4 separate regions of the Homo sapiens genome follow, and regions 1, 3 and 4 are each linked to region 2. The links are contacts of gene promoters, found by promoter capture Hi-C in blood cells and fetal thymus (Javierre and others, 2016). All regions are on one chromosome and are shown on one strand. Each heading gives the region's core, a stretch centred on a gene start or on the middle of the fragment in contact. The rest is flanking DNA. Distances are from core to core; before and after follow the strand shown.

Region 1 (3,192 bases), core at 403-2,902, 6.0 Mb after region 2:
CTATAAAAACACCTCATCAAGGTACACATTTACAAAGATACTCACTAGAGCACTGTTTGTTGTATTAAAAAAATCACTTTGGTTAAACAATATCCATCTGTAGTGTATTAGTCAGTATGTTGTTACAATTCTATGCAATAGGAATATTTATGCAGCTGTTTAAAATGAGGTAAATATGCTATCTATATCACCTATACACACACAGAGACCTATAGGCAAAAAACATGCATTAAAATATTTTGGGTCGGGCACGGTGGCTCACACCTGTAATCCCATCACATTGGGAGCCTGAGGCAGGTGGATCACCTGAGGTCAGGAGTTCAAGACCATCCTGGCCAACATGGTGAAACCTCATCTCTACTAAAAATACAAAAATTAGCTGAGCATGGCAGTGGGCTCCTGTAATCCCAGCTACTCGGGAAGCTGAGGCAGGAGAACTGCTTGAACCCGAGAGGTGGAGGCTTCAGTGAGCTAAGATCGTGCCATTGCACTCCAGTCTGGGCGACAAGAGCAAAAACTCTGTCTCAAAAAACAAAAAACAAAACAAAACAAAAAATTGGAAGTTTACAAAGGAAACCTCTCTGGGTCTGAGAAGTCTAACTGAGTTAGAAGTAAAAACTTTGCATATCCTCCATGGCTTGTTTTTTAAACCAGACGCACATATTCCTTTTATTTTTTAACATAGTTGAGAAGGCTTGTCCTATATAAAGAATAAAGATGGCCAGATGCAGTGGCCCCTGTCTGTAATCCCAGCACTTTGGGAGGCCGAGATCGTGGATCACTTGAGGTGAGGAGTTCAAGACCAGCCTGGCCAACATGGTGAAACTCTGTCTCTACTAAAAATAACAAAAATCACCCAGGCGTGGTGCTGTGCACCTGTAGTCCCAGCTACTTGAGAGGCTGAGGCACAAGAATCGCTTGAACCCAGGAGGCAGAGGTTGCAGTGAGCCAAGATCACACAACTGCACTCCAGCCTGGACGACAGAGCAAGACTCTCAAAAAAATAAATAAATAAAGAATAATTCAGTCAATTCTCCATGTGTCTGTTTTTTGATACTGAATAAAGCTTCCTAAAGACTTTAAAAAGAGGCCTGCAATTATTTAACATTTCAATGTGCAAAACAATACGTGGTATTAAAATTACTACTGAAATAGAACATATCCATCAATTTATGCTAAGAAGTAAGAGGAACTCAATGTAGAAAGAATATTAAATTTGGGCCAGGCATGGTGGCTCACACCTGTAATCCCAGCACTTTGGGAGGCCAAGATGGAAAGACCACCTGAGCCCAGAAGTTCAAGATCAGCCTTGGCAACATGGCAAGACCCTGTTTTTAAAAATAAATAAATATGAAGCAGGTTAAAGAATCCTGGAAACTAAGTAACTAGTTAGCTAAATAAATAAATAGAACAGTAAAATCTAGACCCAGCTCACCACCAGGCTGTGGGGTCCTGAACAAAATCTTTATCTCTTCATATATAAAGATAATATTTAGCACATGATTGATGGTTATAAAGTAGCACCAAAAACAAAAGGTTTTATAAGCATTCAATTAATTTAAATTATGTTAGAATTTTCTAAACATCGTTACCATCATTAACACCTCTGCAATATCTATTTACTTTTTTAAAAATACTCATCAGTATGAACTTTATTTATTTTATTTATTTATTTTTTGAGACAGAGTCTCACTCTGTTGCCCAGTCTGGAGTGCAGTGGCACCATCTCGGCTAGTGCAGCCTCCACCTCCCTGGTTCAAGTGATTCTCCTGCCTCAGCCTCCCAAGTAGCTGGGATTACAGGCACGTGTCACCATGCCTAATTTTTGTACTTTTAGTAGAGACGGGGTTTTGCCATGTTGCCCAGGCTGAGCTTGGGCAAACTCCTGAGCTCAAGCAATCCACATGTCTTGGCCCCCCAAAGTGCTCGGATTATAGGCGTGAGCCACTGCACCCAGCCCCAGTATGAATTTTAGAATAAGCATTATACTGGAAATTAATTACAAATCTTTAAAATGTAATTTCCCAAGATTTCAGTAGATACCCTTACTTTTTTGTTTTTGCCAAACCAAGCCCCCAGTGCCCCAACATTATTCCATGAATAATTCAAATTACCTTTTCAAAGCTGAAAAAGTTAGTAGTGTTTCTACATGTGTTGAAGTCTGTAGATCTCTTTTTCTTACCGAATGCTGCTGGATATTAGATAAAGAGAGAATATCGTAGTCTGAGAGCAAAGAATCAAGCTTCTCTGAAATAAAGGTAAAAAAGGTATTAGCATCTAAACCTAATAATCAATTGTAGTATCGTTAAAATGAGAGTGCCAGACAATAAATCTTTCCTGATGTAATCCATTAGGAAGTGCCAAGCACAAACTATAAATCATTTTTTATCAACAGAAACTCCACTGCCTCTTCCAAAATCAGGATTTTTAGAAGACAAATTGGGTGACTTGAGTCTCTTTAAAAACTGTCTAAAAATATTTGCACTGATGCCTTCCCTTTCTTTCAACAACTATCACTGCAGACACTATGGTATTCAAAATCCTTCCAATGGACTTAGAAGGTCCTCAAAATACAGCAACAGGAGCTTAAAATACAAGTTTATTGCTACTGATGTTAAATATGCTCACAAAACCAGTTTTAAAAGAAAGACTCTTACTCATGTGTGGAAGCTAAAAAAGTGGATCTCGTGGAGGTAGACAGCAGAATGGTGGTTACCAGAGGCTGAGAAGGGAAGTGGGAGTGGTGGAGATGAACAGAAAGTGGTTAGTGTTACAAAAATACAGTTTGATTAGTAAGTTCTAATATTTGATAGTACAGTACAGAAATTATAGTTAACAATTTATTGTATACTTCAAAACAGCTAGAAGACTTGTAATATTCCTAACACAGAAAAGATGTTTCAAATGATGGGTATCCCAATCACCCTGATTTGATCACTACATATTATACACAGGTATCAAAATATCACATGTACCCAAAAAACACATATCACTAAATAAAACAAAAACTCAATTTAACCATACAACTGCCAAGAGACACCCCCCACCTTTCCCAAACCCCTTCTTTATCCTCTACCCAATACCCTACCCTCCTACCCTCCTACCCTAACTGGCTTCCAGAATGCTAGCAATTAGGCCTTTACCTTCCAGAGGAATATGGAAATCTGACAATCTCTAATGAAAAACCTAAGA
Region 2 (3,440 bases), core at 427-2,926:
GTTAGCCAGGATGGTCTCGATCTCCTGACCTCGTGATCCACCCGCCTCGGCCTCCCAAAGTGCTGGGATTACAGGCGTGAGCCACCGTGCCCGGCCCATGATTTTAAAAAAACCTCTCAGAAATAGAAACAGAGGGAACTTCCTGAATTTGATTAAAAATACCTGCAAAATCCTAGAGCTAATATTATACTTAATGGTGAAAGACTGAATGGTTTTCCCCTAAGATGGAGAACAAGGCACGGATGTCCTTGCTCACCACTCCTATTCAACAAAGGACTGGAAACCAGAAATAACTTTAATTTTTTTTGTTCTCAAGTGATAGGTTCACAGAGAAAAAGCTTTACTGGATGAACTTTTAGATTACTACTTTTATAGAGCAGCAGAGATAAAAGCCAGGTCGAAAAGTGCATGTGGAGTAAGGAAATGGACCTAGTTCGACAAAAGGGCTCAGAACGACTGCCCAGATGAGATTGTAGACGCAGCTGTAGTTTACTTTCTATCTGGAAGAAACTTCAAGTTATCCTTAATTTTCCAAGGAGACAGTCACTTACCTTTTAAAAAACATTATTAGAGAAGCACCGGGCGGGAGCATATCTAGCATTAAAAATGTGGGATGAATACCATCTCTGCTTGGTAAAGGTGGTTGGGAATCCTGAGAGAGGGCACCTAGTGTGGCTTCTGCATTTTTCACAGTGCCTGGACCACGGCTGAAAGTAACTCTTGCATGACATTTGACAGAAGAGGAAACCGAAGCTCAGATTAAATTCCCTGTCCACAGCGGGATCATTCGGCACGAGTTCCTCCCTGTCTGGAATGCTCTTCCCCAGCAATAGATCCTGCGGCTCTTCCGTGTCTCAGTCTAATGTCATTCCGTTCCAGGATTCCCGACTTCTTAAAGCATAAATAATCCCTCCCCACCCTCTCATTGTACTGTTATGTAAGTTATTACAATATGTCATTATATATTTAGTCATACTGCTTTAGGTAATGTCTTCTCCACTGAACTGTAAGCTCCATGAGGGCAAGAGTTCAGTCGGTTTTACTTAATAATTAGCACCTAGTACAGTACTAGCATAGAATGAAGGCCTCGCAATTTTTTTTAAATTTATTTTTAGACAGGGTCTTGCGCTGTCGCCCAGGCTGGAGTGCAGTGGTGCAACCTCGGCTCACGGCAGCCTCGACCTTTCGGCTCCAGCGATCCTCCCGCGTCGGCCTCCGGGGTAGCTGGGACTGCAGGCGCGCACCACCATGACTGGCTAATTTTTTTTTTTTTTTTTTTGTAGACATGGGGTCTCGCCATGTTGCCCAGGCTGGTTCCTGAGCTCAAGTGATCCTCCTGCCTCGGCCTCCCAAAGTGCTGGGATTACAGGCGTGAGCCTCAGCGCCCAGCCAAGTTAGCCTTTTTTAAACGTCCTGTCTCCGGAGGTTGCCGAAGTTGGTTTTCTTCGGCCTCCTTCTCTCTCCCAGGCCCAGGGCTGGGACGAGGCCGGTTCCCGCCTGCAACCTGCACTGAAGACGGGAACCTTGGGAGCCGGTACCGGAACGCTCGGAAACGGCACCAAAGTACGAATCCTAGGGCGGAAAAGCGTTACCAAGACACTCGTCCCCAGAGCCGCTTCCTGGGACTCTCTAGCCTCCTACCGCTTCTCAGTGATGTTCCGGTTTCCGCCCTCCTCCTCGCGCTGTTTCCGCCTCTTGCCTTCGGACGCCGGATTTTGACGTGCTCTCGCGAGATTTGGGTCTCTTCCTAAGCCGGCGCTCGGCAAGGTAGGTTGGCGGCCTGCTCTCCGACAGAACTTTTCTTCTTGGGTTGAGGAAAACGCCTTTTGGAGTCAGGCCCTGGAGGGGCGAGCCTTGCTCACAGGGTGGGGATACAGCCGATTACCCGCCCTGTGCTTTCCGATGGCTTCTGCGGGGCGAGCGGGGCCTGGCCGGGGGGTGCGGGCGGGAGGGCGAGCCAGCGGCGCCTGCAGCCCGGGCCGCGTAACGCTGACCGCTGTGCCTTCAGTTCTCCCAGGAGAAAGCCATGTTCAGTTCGAGCGCCAAGATCGTGAAGCCCAATGGCGAGAAGCCGGACGAGTTCGAGTCCGGCATCTCCCAGGTGAGAGGGTTTCCCTGGGGTCTGGGGTGGGGGGAGGCGCCCCGCCCGGGAGGGGAGGCGGCCGCGCGTGTGTTGGGCCCGGGGTGCTCGGACGCGCGCTCAGGGTCGGTCCTGCTGTTCGTTGCTTCTTAGGCTCTTCTGGAGCTGGAGATGAACTCGGACCTCAAGGCTCAGCTCAGGGAGCTGAATATTACGGCAGCTAAGGTAAGCTGGCGCTCCCTCGGCTGGGAGGGAGGTTGCGGCGCGTCTCCCCGCGCAGTGCCTGAGAGGGTTGGACCTGGGTTACGGTTGATGATGACTTGCCGCCTGGCCGCCTAACCTGAACTCAGGTTCGGCCGTGTTGTTTGGGAGTGATACCGCCCAGGTGCGGGGAGTGGGGTTGCAGGTACCCTGCGGCTTAAGCTGTCCACATGCGGGCGGTGGAGAAACGTGGAGTAGGGAGGGCCTGGGCCCATTTCGGACCTTATTTGCCCTTACTTAGTTATAGATACGGCAAAGAGCTGTGGGGAGCTCAGGATGAGATTCTCTCTACCCTTAGCCCGGAGTTGCCGCAAGTGGGGGTGCAGAAGTGGTAGTGATTGGCCTCCTGGCCTGAACAGTCTCCCTTCCTGGAATAAGGAAATGTGAAGGTTGGAGAGAGATGAGAACATTTCCGAAGGATGCATTTATGATTAACTCAAAACTAGTATTAGTTTGTAGTGCAGCTACGGTGTTAGTGATAAGGTCTTCTTATCCTCTAATTTGACCACAACGTTTACTTTCTGAAGCAGTTAACACAGTGGATTTTTGTTTTTTTCTTTAGGAAATTGAAGTTGGTGGTGGTCGGAAAGCTATCATAATCTTTGTTCCCGTTCCTCAACTGAAATCTTTCCAGAAAATCCAAGTCCGGCTAGTACGCGAATTGGAGAAAAAGTTCAGTGGGAAGCATGTCGTCTTTATCGCTCAGGTATCTGTTCTACTGTTGCAGCACGTTTCTGTTTGTGAATTTTGCTAAAATTGCTTGTATTTAGACTGCATTGGTAGTTGGAGTCATGAAAACAATCCTTTTATGAATCCAATTGGGTAGAAAGATAAAGTACAGGCAGAGCGCCGTGGCTTAGGCCTGTAATCCCAGCACGGGGAGGTGGAGGCGGGTGGATCACTGTAGAGACCAGCCTGGGCAACATGGTAAGACCCTGTCTACAAAAAATAGAAAAAATAAGTTTTAAAAAGAAAGATAAAGTACGTTCTTTAATTAAGAGTCGAAACAAGAAGTCTGTAAAGTGACAGACTGCTGTGTTTTGAGTTATGAAAATGATTTCCCATATTTAAATTTCCACAAGTCTAGTGGGTTGCTTAC
Region 3 (3,472 bases), core at 70-2,569, 5.9 Mb after region 2:
AGCATTTCAGGAAGAAAGTAGAGCAAGTACGGGGCATGTGGTGGAAACTAGTTTGGCATCTTGAATATGAAGTCCCGGGAGAGATCCTAGTAGAGATACCTAGTGTCACGTGTATGTATTAAAGGTCTAGAATTCAGAAGAACAATCTGGGTTACAAATACAGGCTTGGAAGTCCTTAGCATGTCAGAAAGATGAGAATGAAGATTGAGAAGTTGGCCAAGGAGCAAACCCTCGGAATATCAACATTTAAAGGGTAGGCAGAGGTGGCTGAATATGTGAAGGAAACAGGAAAGCCAGCAAGACAAGATGAGAGCATCAGGTCAGAGAAGCCAAGGGAGAGGTGCTTGAGGAAGGAGCAGGTACTCCTTAGGAGTGACAACGGCTGCCAAGAGAACAAGATAGGGACTGACACCTATAGTTCCAGCTACTTGGGAGGCTGAGGCGGGAGGATCACTTGAGCCCAGGAGTTGAAGGCCAGACTGGGCAACATAGGGGGACCTTGTCTCAAAAAAAAAAAAAAGACTGAAATGACTACTGAGCAGCAAGGACAGTTTCAGAAAAGTGATTGGTAAAAGCCAGAGTATAGCGAATTGAGGAGCGAGTAGAAGGTGAGGAAGTACAAGAGGGTCCACTGCCCTGGGAGGTGGTCTGGGGAAAGAATAAAGTGGGAACTAAAGGAGCTTAGAGTCAAGGGATTTTAATTTGGGGATGAACATGGCTGTAGTATGTTTAAATTTGGATTGGATGGTAAAGAGCAGACAGTGAGGAAAATGTCAATGACACAGCAGTGTTGAGTTCCTCAGAAGGAGGGAGGGAGTACGTAGAGTAGAATGGTGGAAAGTTTCATTGTGGAAAGAGAGGTCTATTCTATCTATAGAGGAGAAATAGAAGGAGACAGATGTGGGCAGGTTGGTACCCTGTTGGTACATGTATTCTTAATTATTGTACCAACATGAAGTTGAGGAAATTTACAAATGGACTGTTTATTTTTTTGATGCAGAAGATGGCCCATGCCTCAAGTGAAGAAGAGGATAGAAGGTTGGAAAATTTGGGAAAGGGAAGAAAGTTTGAAAATAGTTGATATGGAAATGAAATGGAGAAAACAGCCAGGCAACATTGAGGGCCAGTTAAAGTGGAAGGCCAGGGTATCCACAATAATTACAAATAAAAAATGTTTAAAAAGTGGAAGGCCAGGAATTTATGGCGGCTCTCATCCACAGTTGTTTGATCTTCTGTATCAACACCTGTTTGGAGGTAGGATCTCAGTTTGGGGATAGATCCATTGCATGTCCATCTGACTGAGTTCCTTGAGGTCAGGGTCCCTGTAAGGCATTTCCATGTCCTAGGCACTTAATCCAGTGCTTGGCAAATAGAAGCTGCTTAATGTTGAGTGAGTGAGTGGATTGTGAGCTAGAATGGTTGGGAAAAGGCATCAAAGAAGGTGAGGGATTTGAAAGATGAGGTTTAACTTAAAGTGTGCCTTGTGACCATTGCAAATTATGGCTGAAATTATTAAGAAGAAACAAAAATTATGTAAGTAGTTGGTATAAAATATGCTGAAATAACAGAAAGTAGAAGAAAAAGTGATTGAAATTCACAGTATGAATAAGTATTTTAAAAAAAAAAATTTTTTTTTTTTTTTTTTGAGGCAGAGTCTCGCTCTGTTGCCCAGGCTGGAGCGCAGTGGCGCGATCTCAGCTCACTGCAAGCTCCGCCTCCTGGGTTCACACCATTCTCCTGCCTCAGCCTCCCGAGTAGCTGGGACTACAGGTGTCCGCCACCACGCCTGGCTAATTTTTTGTATTTTTAGTAGAGACGGGGTTTCACCGTGTTAGCCAGGATGGGTCTCGATATCCTGATCTCGTGATCTGCCTGCCTCGGCCTCCCAAAGTGCTGGGATTACAGGCGTGAGCCACCGCACCCGGCCATTTAAATTTAAGCCATTTGGCAAATACACATTATGATCTTAAAGAAGATGACAGTGTTGAAATGCTTATGGCTTTCTACTTAAGTGCTAATTCTAGAAGTATTATTATATAATCTGCGTAACTGCTAGTTTACATTTTAAATACATTATAATTTAATCCTAAAATTCAGAAAATTGAATTTAAATCAAGCCCAAACCTTTGGGCTTCTTGGATCTGTACCGCCTTCTCTCTTAATTTTAAGAACTGCAAGATCCCTGGACTCCCAAGGATCAGTTTTCATCTGTTCTCATGTGGACACTGTTCTTCCCTGTCTTTGTGATTTTGTAGAACTCTCTTACGTCTCAGAATTTTTCAGTGAGGTGCTGTCATCAGATGGCATGTAGTGTACATTGTAAAAAAGTGTAAGTTTATTGGACTTGGTTTTGATTTTTTTTAATCCTTCTTTTTCTCCCCTTGAATATTTACAGTGGAGCTGGGCAAGAAGTAGGAAGATCATGTATTATTCTCGAGTTCAAAGGAAGAAAAATAATGGTAATTACTATTTTTGTACTCAGTTTAATAGTATGGCTCTGTCTGTATTGGGTGTTAGTCTTTTCTCATAGACTAGTTATCTTTTTAGCTCCCAGAAAAATGTTATAGTACATGTAATCTATGCTGTATAGTGTTAATGAGAAAAACTAATACACACTTCTACTTAGTAATTTAGTTGATTAAGAAGATATATTCTATGACTGTAAAATTGTCAGCTAGATCTGTTGAACTGTTACCTCTTCAAAGTCCCTCTTCCACTCCTGAAGGGTTGAGCCAGCCTAACTGCCCCACCCCCAGTGGAAGATCCCAAGGGCCCAAGCACTCTGAACACACTGAGAGCTCTAGCCGCCTCCAGCATGTGGGGATCAAGCCTTGGCCTAGAAGCTTGGATCCCCAGGTCCCACTGGGGCTGCCGGCCTTGGCCAAGTCACTTTGCTTCTCTAAGCCTGAAAGGTAGAGGGGTTAGAGGAGATAGTTTCTAAGGTACTCATTAGAAAGTCAGTTCTGTGTCTCAGATTCCTTTGATTCCTCTTTCTTCTCAACTCCTCCCAATCTGAAAAGAACATGTATAGGTCAGACATAGTCATCCTTTTAGTCATCTGTTTTGTTAATTTGGTAGTAACGCCATAAAAATAAGTAACTTTAATGACTGAGTCTTAAGAATTTGTTCCCTAATGCCTTAAAATATTTAAATTACCCTGATCAGGTAAGTTTCCCATTTCTAATTATTATCTTCTCACGAGAGTCGATCTGGTAGTAGTAAATCTATAAACTTTTAAAATTTTAATCTGATATCAAAGTTTTTGAAAAAGATTTAATTCGTTGTTAGAATGACGACCAAAAGTAGCTGGAAAGAAGCTGTTTTGTACTTTGCATCCTGTGACCCCTAAATGTGAGCTATATTTTAAATTTGTTGGGAAGTTAGAATTGTTAATGGCATATTTGCCACATTTAATAAGAATCATGTTCCAAGTGCTAGTGCCTGGAGTCCATCTTGAGTATATGGGTGATGG
Region 4 (3,013 bases), core at 408-2,907, 7.2 Mb after region 2:
ACCCCCTGTGTCTAATTAAGGGACTCCCAGGTGCCTATTCTGAGTTCTAGTCACTCAGGTCATCTTTCTGGGTTAGAATAAAGAACTGTCCCCAAGCACCAGAGTTGAGAGTGACTCTTGTTTTAGGGCTTGTGGAAGAGACTGCAAGCAATGAAAATCAAAGTTGCAGATTCTGGAAATTCCTCCACAGTCGCAGAACTGCAGCCAGGTATATACTGCCTGCCACACTTCACCACACAGCTCCCCCGGTGGGCGCCCAAGGCCTTGCCAATGGAATGGGAGAGGAGGTGATAATCCCAACTGCTTAGCCAGGTCCTGTTCCTCTTCCACCAGGCGGAATTGTTGGACTTGGGGCACCCCAGCTTCTACCATGCAGACCCCCACAGGGACCTTGGGGCCACTGGAGCAGTGACAGGGAAGGAACCCAAGTCTAGAATGACCGGGAAGATCAGTGCCACCCTCCAACCTGGATGGCTCACCATGTAGCTGTTACTTTAGAGAGAAGATTCTATAGTTTTAGCCATTGTATTTTGGAATAACTTGCCACAGGAGTTTAGCTTGACTTTGACTAATACAGGGCTTAATGTTCTCAGGGTGAAGAATCTGGGCTAACGTACCCACAGAATGAACAGGGTAGATCCGACAGGGGACATGTACCTCTTCCTAGGGGTGCTCAGGAGACACACAGTGCTCCTCTCTGGACTTTCTCATTCATTCTGAGGTTCAGATCATAGGTAGAGTCGAGTCTTATTTTCAGTGGGGATAGGCAGATGAAGCCTTTTAAAAATACTGATAAAACGCACATAACATAAAATAAAATTTACCACTTTAACTTTTTTTTTTTTTTGAGACAGGGTCTCACTCTGTCACCCAGGCTGGAGTACAGTGGTGTGATCATAGCTCACTGCAGCCTCAACCTCCTAGTGTCAAGCAATCTTACCACCTCAGCCTCCCAAACAGCTGGACTACAGATGAAAGCCACAACACACCTGACTAATTTCTGTATTTTTTTTTTGTAGAGATGGGGTTTTACTATTTTGCCCAGGCTGGTCTCAACTCCTGGCCTCAAGTGATCTGCCCACCTCAGCCTCCCAAAGTGTTGGGATTACAGGCGTGAGCCACTGTGCCCAGCTCACTTTAACCATTTAATTTATTTATTTATTTATTTATTTATTTATTTATTTATTTATTTATTTATTTATTTTGAGATGGAGTTTTGCTCTTGTTGCCCAGGCTGGAGTGCAATTGCACTATCTCGACTCACTACAACCTCTGCCTCTGGGTTCAAGCGATTCTCCTTCCTCAGCCTCTTGAGTAGCTGGGATTACAGTCTTATGCCACCATGCCTAGCTAATTTTGTATTTTTTTTAGTAGAGATAGGGGTTTGCCATGTTGGTCAGGCTGGTCTCAAACTCCTGACCTCAGGTGATCCACCCACCTCAGCCTCCCAAAGTGCTGGGATTATAGGCGTGAGCCACCATACCTGGCCTTTAACCATTTTTAAGTGTACAGTTCCATGGCATTAAATGCGCTCACATCGTTGTACAACCTTCATCTCCAGAGCTTTTTATCACCCCAAACTGAAACTCTATCCCCATTAAATGCCAAATCCTCATTCCCCCTCCCCCTGACCCCTGGCAACTGTCATCCTACTTTCTGTCTTTATAAATTTAACTACTCTAGACATCTCATGTAAGTAGAATCCTATAGTACTGTCCTTTTGTGAGTGATTGATTTTACTTAGCCTAACGTCTTCAAGGTCCATTCATGCTGTGGCATGTGTCAATTTCCTTCCTTCTTAAAGCAGAGTCACATTCCATCATATGACTAGACCTCATTTTGTTTATCCATCCGTCTGTTAGTGGACACTTGGGTTGTTTTCACCTTTTGGCTGTTGTGAACAGATGGAGGCTCCTACTCTGGGAGTTTCCTCTACTTACCGGGTGCATTAGCCATGGTGGTTGATGGATACATTATGGGACTTTTCCTTGATAGGGAGTGGGCAGGAGAAGTTGGTGAGCCTGAAAGTGAGAGAGAAGAGGAGATGAGTGAGGTGGGGATGGGGAAACTATTACCGAATGTTCACCATATGCCAGGCTCCACGTATTTACATCTGTGAACCTGCTAAAACTGCTTTTGTTAATCAACGAAAAGTTATAGTGCTGAAAAATCTTATTCCTGAAAAAGCACAGACTGTTATAAACTGTGCTATTTGAGATAAATAGAGTAAGAATGGAACATCCTTCTTTTGTCTGAAGGACCTGGGTCATCTTAACACTGAGAAGCTGCCTTGATTTCCAACCCAGGGCCTTCTGGACACAACATTGCACATTTGTCTTAACTTCATCATTTCCAAGGAAAGAGGAACCTCCATCCACTTCGTAGCCCAGGTCTGACCGTAATTCCTTTATACACAGTTGTGTTTTGCTTTGAGCCTATTAAACACTGCTTTATTTAAATCTTACCTACAACTTTCCCTTCTCCAACACCCTATGGTAATCCTGTTGGCTTGCTTGGTTAGAGTTGCCCCATGGGTCCTCTGAGGTGCCCTCTCTTGTTGCAGTGATCCGAGAAGCCCGCCTCTGCTGGTCTGCAGGTTTGTCCTGCTGGTCTCTATTAGATGGGGCCACCATGTGTTGTGTTTCGTTTAATCCTCACAGCAGCCCTGCAGTTAGATATGACTAGTCTCACTTTACCGAGGGAGACACTGAAGTCCAGAGGTGTTCTTGGCATAGTGAAGTGGCCTCATTGTCTGGGGTAATACCTGTGGTTCGTTGTCTCATGGTCATGGAGATTAAAGACGTGGACCCACGAAGAGTTAGGTTAAGAGCGGAAGTTTAATAGATGAAAGAGAGAGAATAGCTCTCTGTTATAGAAGGGGGTCCCGGAAAAATGGGTTGTTGATCTGTGGTTAAATGTGGGGTGTTTTATAGATGAGTCGCTGGGGAGGTGGTGTCTGATCTACAGAGGGCATGAAAAATTGATTAGGACCAGGTGTGTCATTTGTATAAGG

The links. Contacts are between HindIII fragments. The CHiCAGO score rates a contact against its expected background, and 5 or more counts as called.
Region 1: a fragment that was not itself captured here is called in contact with the fragment with the promoter of RPS7 in region 2 in 1 of 17 cell types (total B cells); the score reaches 7.5 in total B cells.
Region 3: a contact is called between a fragment that was not itself captured here and the fragment with the promoter of RPS7 in region 2, in 1 of 17 cell types (total B cells). The highest score is 5.4, in total B cells.
Region 4: a contact is called between a fragment that was not itself captured here and the fragment with the promoter of RPS7 in region 2, in 1 of 17 cell types (neutrophils). The highest score is 7.5, in neutrophils.

What each region holds. Positions count from the first base shown.
Region 1 is chr2:9,541,039-9,544,230 of GRCh38, forward strand. ADAM17 (ADAM metallopeptidase domain 17) reads right to left here. Exons shown (of 19, transcript NM_003183.6): 2 at 2,115-2,247. Among named protein-coding and RNA genes, the nearest start is that of ADAM17, 13 kb to the right of the region's middle. RefSeq lists an enhancer at 737-916. The HindIII fragment of the contact is 1,176 bases long and covers 1,065-2,240 here.
Region 2 is chr2:3,573,584-3,577,023 of GRCh38, forward strand. It overlaps RPS7 (ribosomal protein S7), which reads left to right and starts at 1,677. Exons shown (of 7, transcript NM_001011.4): 1 at 1,677-1,767; 2 at 2,009-2,101; 3 at 2,234-2,305; 4 at 2,904-3,047. The coding sequence starts at 2,027. It overlaps LOC124907726 (a long non-coding RNA gene), which reads right to left and starts at 1,526. Exons shown (of 2, transcript XR_007086196.1): 1 at 552-1,526. RefSeq lists enhancers at 1,230-1,805, 1,806-2,382 and a silencer at 1,934-2,223. The HindIII fragment of the contact is 5,628 bases long and covers 337-3,440 here.
Region 3 is chr2:9,426,370-9,429,841 of GRCh38, forward strand. CPSF3 (cleavage and polyadenylation specific factor 3) reads left to right here. Exons shown (of 18, transcript NM_016207.4): 2 at 2,396-2,459. Among named protein-coding and RNA genes, the nearest start is that of CPSF3, 4.5 kb to the left of the region's middle. The HindIII fragment of the contact is 3,044 bases long and covers 1-2,841 here.
Region 4 is chr2:10,817,334-10,820,346 of GRCh38, forward strand. It overlaps a transcript of PDIA6 not described here. Among named protein-coding and RNA genes, the nearest start is that of PDIA6, 6.1 kb to the left of the region's middle. RefSeq lists an enhancer at 2,380-3,013. The HindIII fragment of the contact is 3,696 bases long and covers 1-3,013 here.